Linked DNA regions of Homo sapiens: region 1 is linked to region 2. Evidence: promoter capture Hi-C in 16 types of primary human blood cells and fetal thymus (Javierre and others, 2016). All regions are on one chromosome and are shown on one strand. The core of a region is centred on a gene start or on the middle of the fragment in contact, and the rest is flanking DNA. Distances in the headings are between cores, read along the strand shown.

Evidence for each region. The method cuts DNA at HindIII sites, captures the fragments that hold promoters and counts their contacts. A CHiCAGO score of 5 or more calls a contact.
Region 1: a contact is called between a fragment that was not itself captured here and the fragment with the promoter of GKN2 in region 2, in 1 of 17 cell types (activated CD4 T cells). The highest score is 5.6, in activated CD4 T cells.

What each region holds. Positions count from the first base shown.
Region 1 is chr2:68,120,354-68,124,127 of GRCh38, reverse strand. It overlaps the pseudogene PPIAP64. Among named protein-coding and RNA genes, the nearest start is that of DNAAF10, 35 kb to the left of the region's middle. RefSeq lists enhancers at 1,397-1,691, 2,540-2,619, 2,630-2,799, 3,030-3,189. The HindIII fragment of the contact is 3,787 bases long and covers 1-3,277 here.
Region 2 is chr2:68,950,853-68,954,534 of GRCh38, reverse strand. GKN2 (gastrokine 2) reads left to right here and starts at 1,642. Exons shown (of 6, transcript NM_182536.3): 1 at 1,642-1,685. The coding sequence starts at 1,674. The HindIII fragment of the contact is 766 bases long and covers 1,038-1,803 here.

The DNA.
Region 1 (3,774 bases), core at 135-2,634, 830 kb after region 2:
CCTGGCCCCTTAATACAACATTTAATAAATGTTGGGCCAGGCGCAGTGGCTTACGCTTGTAATCCTAGCACTTTGGGAGGCCAGGAGTTCAAGACCAGCCTGGGCAACATAGTGAGACACTGTCTCTACAGAAAATTTTTTTTTTAAATTAGCTGGGTGTGGTAGCACAGCTTATAGTCCCAGCTGCTTGGGAGGCTGAGGCAGGAGGATCACTTGAGCCAAGGAGGTTGAAGCTGCAGTGAGTGGTGACTGTGTTACTGCACTCCAGCCTGGGGAAAATGAGAGACCCTGTCTCAAAAATAAATAAATAAATAAAAGCAAATGTTGGTGGGTGATTAAAATGATAAAATAATGATAAAACAAGTAATTAGGAAAAAAAAGTCCATCTTAACCTCTGGCCTGTTTTTTGAAGGCATTGTTGTTGATTAGGGTTAGGTTCAGCTGCGGGTAACTGAAAACCCAAAATAAAGATTACGCATTATCCAGTGTGCCTGTTCCAGTTGAACCATCACATCCACATTCCAGACATCAGAAAAGTAGGAAAAGTAAGAAAAAGAACATCTTGCACTTTGAAGAGCACTTTTGCTTGTATCCATTGGTGATGATTTGGTCCTGTGTCTCGGTCTCACCTATCACAGTGAGACCGAGAAGCATAAACCTGATTGTGTGCAGTGTTATACCCGGCTACCATTTGGGAGTTCTGGTCCTGAGGAAGTAGGGAAATGGATGTTGGGAGGTGTAACTGGATTCTGCCGCCCTGACAGAGCCGTCAAGCACGGCCTCCCTGGCTGCGTCCTCCCATGAGGTGAAAACTAGGGCGCTACCAATGCGTGCTTCCTTAGGCCAGATCTGGGTCTTGGCACCCAATACTCCCTTTTGGCAATTGTATCTTCTCCATCAGCTCTTGTAAACCAGACACCATGGAATCCCTTGGTTTTTTAAGTTACTTTTATTATCCTTTATGTGCACCAATGCAAGCCCAGCCCAGTACAAAAACAGGAAAGGAAAACTCCCCCTACACACTCAAATTGATCTTCATACTACATTTCTTTTCTTGGGAATTTGTTTGTACTTAATAATAACTTCTTTCGAATCCCAAATACCTTTTCCACTCAGGGGCAGTACAAAGTCACGCGCAGTAGAACATGAACGGCGCAGCTTACCTCATGCGTGTCCATAAACTCACCAAAGGAACTTGAAGGGAGAACAGTGTCTTTATGATCCGGCGTGTCTTGGTACCTGCTTAAAGTCACTTTTGCTTGTGATTTAGCTGGATACACTTTGCATATATACATGAAAAATAATTTTTTTTCTGGGAATGTCTAAGGACTATCCAACACACAAAATGATTTCATCCTTTTCTGAATGAGAACAGCCCGAAAGTTTCTGGCAAATACGCAGGGTTCGTGAGATATGAAATTCAATTATGTCGTGGTACATAAGGTCCGCCTCTTCACGACTTTCAGTGGATTTTCTTCCCCTGGGAAGGAGGCCCCTCAGCCGCACGTTCCGAATCCCAGGCCGTCCTTGTACCTGAAGACCCAGTGGTGCGCTGCCCCCTTGTGGGAGATGTGGGCATTGCAGACCTTTCAACACAAGGAAACGGAATTTGTCTTTCAAATGCAGCTGGAAAAATCTATCCTGTTTAATTCCCAGGAGGCACGCAAGCCAAACTGGACCTTGAGAAAGACATTATCTTACAGAAATGTCTTCCAAAAATGTGATTGTGTTTATGAAGAAAACCCACTTTGTATATAACAACACTGCATAGCATGCCTATGCTTCTTTTTACAGAATGGGTTTTTTAACCAAAAGTTGGATCATTAGCTTTATTATAGATTCAGTCTTACTGGTAGCATCACAAGGCTAACTTCCAAGAGAAAATATTTGGCTTTTTATAAAGTGAGGAATTATTTTGTAAAGTAAATAGTACATGCCTCTATCTCCTACCAACCGTTTATTCTGTAAATTCTGATTTTAACGAAGCATTTCTCAGAGTAAGGACTTCTTTATACCATCACTTAACTTCCTGCAGGAATTCTAGAATTTCTCTCCATCTTCTTTGCACCAGATCCAATGTTTTGTTTTGTTTTGTTTTGTTTGAGACAGAGTTTTGCTCTTGTTGCCCAGGCTGGAGTGCAATGGCACGATCTCAGCTCACTGCAACCTCCGCCTCCTGGGTTCAAGCGATTCTCCTGACTCAGCCTCCCAAGTAGCTGAGATTACAGGCGCCCACCACCACGCCCGGCTAATTTTTGTATTTTTAGTAGAGACGGGGTTTCTCCATGTTGATCAGGCTGGTCTCGAACTCCTGACCTCGAGTGATCCGCCTGCCTCGGCCTCCCAAAGTGCTGGGATTACAGGCATGAACCACCGTGCGCAGCCATATAGCCACTGTTTTTAAAAGCCATTTCTGCACTACCAAGTTAGTGAGTAGCAGCCCTCCACCTGCCCACCTTTGGCGTATGGACCATGCAGCTAAAAGAAGCAACACAAAATAAACTGTGGTCAAAAGAGACTCACAGTTCTCCCTCACACCGGAGGCTGAAGACACTCACACTTCCTCCTTTTAAGTCTTCAACTTTTCTTCTTTATGACACCCAAGGCTTTCATGGCCAGTCAGAACGTCAGTGCCAGAAGAGGCCTTTGAGACCTCTGCACTCAATTTCTGCATTTGAAGACAGACCCAGGCCCTCATCTCCTGACCCCTCATCCAGTGATATTCTCCTGCACCTCCCTGAGGAGTTGCTCAACACTCTGATCCCTCCGAGAAGCCTGGGGTACCTCTAAATTTAACATGCCAGAAACCGAGAACTCTATGCAAACAACACCACTGCTCAGAGGTGATAAGGGTAAGCAAATAAACCACCAGGGAGAAACAGAAGCAGAGTTTTGGCTCTCACCACCCTGTAGATAAACAAGTGTTTGATCTGGGCTGAGCACATCCCTCATCTGGTGAGAGATAACATTCACACTCAGAGGGAGTCTGTGCTTGCAGCCAACAGGTTTGGAACCCTATTGAGCGCTGACCTGGCCGCACACAGACTGAACTAGGGCTCAGGAATGATGGACCAGGGGAAATTTTGTTACCACCCAGGGGGAAAGAGAGGGTCTTCCTGCATTCCTAAGAGCTCACAGGCTAAAGGGCCCTAAGAAAGCAGACACAGAAGACACAGAAGCCTCAGCTAAGGGGGAGTCCTGACGGCCACAGTCCCCACTAATCCACTATGGGCCACTTAGGGCTTGTTGTGAATTTTCCAATCTGTTCCGTAAAGCTTCCTAGGAAGAATGTCAGAAGCCTTATTCTCTTGCTCTCGGTTGAGGCTATGGAAGCTAAAGAAAGCAGTATATGCCAGGCGAGGTGGCTCACACCTGTAATCCCATCACTTTGGGAGGCCAAGGCAGGTGGATCAATTGAGGCCAGAAGTTTGAGACCAGCCTGGCCAACATGGTGAAACCCCATCTCTATTAAAATACAAAAAATTAGCTGCATGTGGTGGCATGCACCTGTAGTCCCAGCTACTTAGGAGGCTGAGGCAGGAGAATCGCTTGAACCTGGGAGGCAGAGGTTGCAGTGAGCTGAGATCACGCCACTGCACTCCAGCCTGGGTGACAGAGTGAGACTCCATCTCCAAAAAAAAAAAAAAAGAAAGAAAGAAAGACAGTGAATGAGGAGTAAACTTGGAGGGAAACCAGTGGCCTGTCTCTAGAGTCTTGATCAGGATCACATTTATAAAGATGATAATGTTGACAATAATAATAATAGCTGCTAAT
Region 2 (3,682 bases), core at 393-2,892:
CATATTGAGTGCTCTACAAACACTAGCAACAATCATTATTAGACTATAGAACCAGAACTCCTGAGGACGGGAGGGGGACATGGTAGAGGATAGCATGTGATACTTTCATTAGCCCTAATGTCTATGGGCATTGCTGGTTTGCTTTTTTGAGTCTCTGAAGCCAGATATGAGAGAAAATTTGCAGGTGCCTTAGAAAACTGTAATCCTTTCTGCAGCTACTATCTGAGAAAGATTTAATAAAGCTGCGTGTTTTACATCCACCCCCACTGAACAGCCAGGGTAGGGAGATTCCAGTGAACTAGGTAACCCTTAACTTGCCCAGATGTCTACTTTTTGAGAACCCCATTTTTGTTTAAAGCTGCTAAAGTTAGAAAGTTGTTTCAGCTATAGAACAAGGCCATTATTTATGTTATCTCTTTGTTTACTGTGGTGATTCTCAATATTTTACAATTTTGCAATTTACTGGGGTTTTTTGTTTTGTTTTGTTTTGAGATGGAATCTTGCTCTATCACCCAGGCTGGAGTGCAGTGGCATGATCTTGGCTCACTGCAACCTCTGCCTCCCGGGTTCAAGCAATTCTCCTGCCTCAGCCTCCTGAGTAGCTGGGACTACAGGCGAGCACCATCACGCCTGGCTAATTTTTTTGTACTTTTAGTAGAGACGGGGTTTCACCATAGTAGAGACGGGGTTTCACCATGTTGTCCAGGCTGGTCTCAAACTTCTGACCTCAGGTGATCTGCCCGCCTTGGCCTCCCAAATTGCCGGGGTTACAGGCATGAGCCACTGCGCCCAGCCGCAGTTTATTGTTTTTGTTGTTGTTGTTGTTTGTTTTGTTTTTAAATTTCCCTTCCTGAGTTCATGATTATACCCTGACACTAACTAGCCATTTCTAATTGTCATGTTAAAAAAATTACACAAATTAAACTTTATTCTCTTTCTCTCTCTTTTTTTTTTTTTTCAATCTAAGAATTTCTTAATACTCTGCAAGATAACTAGAGGTCTCTAACTTACAGTTTTGTGCAGTTTTGGGCGAAGCTTAATGTAAAAATTTGGTTAAACTTGGTAATTGGGGAGAATGCTTTCTGAGTCTTGTTCCTCATTAATTTCTGGAAATTGACACCAAATCTAAAGGGAAGAACGAAGAAAGTCCTAGGCTGTTTGTTCTCCAAGCAGGCCTCCCCAGCCACTGTCTTGGCACCCCGTCTCATATCCGTTCCCTCTGTGGAAGAATTCAGCCAGCAGAACAGTGGTGAAAAGACATTGAGTTGGGGCCCAACTCAGGCCTTAAGGAAGCACTCTTCCTTTAGGAGGAGATGTTAGAAGTTTGTCCTTGTAGAGCTATAAAATGTATGCATAGAACAAGCATCATGCAATATTTTTAAAGGGTGGAAATTAAAATGTCAAGTGCAGCATAGTACAAATAGCAGGGAATATTTACAGAGTGACCAAGTGGTGAATTTTCATTACTGACTAATGAACTTCATTGATATCAGGTATGTGGTTGGATCTCAATTCTGATAAAGGAGTTTGCTAGGGTGTGTCAGAGATATAGACATGGTCTTTTCCAAAGTGATCATTTGAAAAAGAGATATCCACATCTTCAAGCCCATATAAAGGATAGAAGCTGCACAGGGCAGCTTTACTTACTCCAGCACCTTCCTCTCCCAGGCAAAATGAAAATACTTGTGAGTATTTGTTTCTGCTTCTTGATACTCTTGTGGTGACTGCTTGCAGACAATGCTCATATCTAATATGCCATGGATTTTGGGAGTCTTAGACAGATACTGTGCATGCTTCTAAGCTTCTGTGATTGAATTAATGACATCTTTGGCAGAAATAGTGTTGAATAAGTCTGACTTTTTTTGTCCTTTTCCTGTTTTGAGATGTTTACTTAAAAGAAAATTCAAAAATACAAAGAAATCTCTAGATAATTTTGATTTGGAGGATGTTTAATAATAATCCTTTATTATGAGCTTCATAGGGAATTTGGGCTATTTAAAACAACTACATTTGCTATCTAAGAGAGAAGCTGTAGTTTAAAAATAATATCAGTAATAGTAATAATAGTACCTCTCATTTCTCAAATGCATACTAAGCCTTAGACTAAGCATATCACATGAATAATTTCATCTATTCATTGCAACAACCCTATGAGTTGAGTAGTATTCTCCCCGTTTTACAGATAAGGAGACTGAGAGGCAGAGGAATGTGATTTTCCCAAGCCCGTAAATGTGGGATTTAGAATGTAATTTATCCATCTGAATCCCCACTTGCAGGCGCAATCATGGCAAATTTAAGCAGCCAGAGTGTCTTCAATGTCCTCTCATTATGACTAAATTCTCCCTTAGGACAAAACGTTCCTTCTATGGCCACTCCACCCCTCCATCTGATCCCAGCCTCCGTAGTTCCACATTGCAGTGCCCCATGGACAGTGGGCTATGTTCTGACCTAGAATGGAATTCGCTCCCCTAGTCTCTGTCCTTTATTCTCATTCAGCTGCTAAGGGAGAAAGCAAAATGTTAAGTACCTCTTTCTAAAGTGTTAAAGACTATCAGCTTAAAGAGCTCCCTCTCTCAGGGCTGTCTTGATTTTCCAAATTGAGACCTAACCCTGAAGCACAAAAGTATTATATAACCATGGTGTATTAACCACAGTGTTGGAAGGGAGATCATTTTGGGGCAGAGGACACTCCCCAAGCTCTCTCTAATCATACCATTAAAGTGGTTTAGTCCTTCGACTACTTGTTCAAACCACTATTTTAGACTCATTAACTAGAATATACGGGAGTATCATATGTTGCTGGAGCTGGTCTGTGGTAAGAGAAGATGTATCCCTATGGAAGGCTGAATATCAGCACACAGGTCTTTGTTAGATGCTCTACTCCCAGTCCCCAGAAGAGAAATATTAAGGGTGGGATGGAAAGGGAAGTAGGAAAGTCCCACTGACAGTTCTTAAAAATATCCCCCTTCCCCAAGACTCCTTTCATCAGCAGTTTTCAAATGACAGTGCAGTCAACTATGTACTGATGTAGTTTTCAGCGATAGTACAGTTCACTGATGTTCAGAAGAGAGGGTACAAAACCTGGGTTAGCATGTTGGAACAGACTCTTACAGAACTACAGCAAAATATCAGAACTGCTTCAATGTCAGCTCACGACCTGTGGGCCCAGCACTTGTGTGATAGTATCACTAAGGCATAGGAGAATATGGGGGTTTTACTTGATGTCAGCCTCAAAAGTTAATTGTGCTCCCAAGCATTCTATTTTCATAGTTTCCCTTAGGAACCTGTCAGGTCTTTATCACCCATGATTCATTTTAAATCTGTATTACCCTCTCAGTCTTAAGGGATTAAAGTTTTTTAAAATTAATTAATTAATTAATTATTTTTTTAGAGGACACAATTTGACCACTGTTATCCAAAGCTAGTGTGAATCATACCAGAGTATTTCCATAGTGAAATGAATCCTTCACTGCTCATCTGCCCCGGGTTTCTCCTACTATCTACATGGTTATAATGCTAGAAAGAGTTGGGAATTAGGTGGCAATTGTAGCACCCTGTGTCTGGCAAATAGAATGAACTCAACAAATGCCTGTTAAATGAGCCAATGTGTGAGCCAATCAATGTGTGCGTGGAAAGGGAGTGCTGACCATCTGTGGCCACTCAGTGTCTCTAGGTGTACATT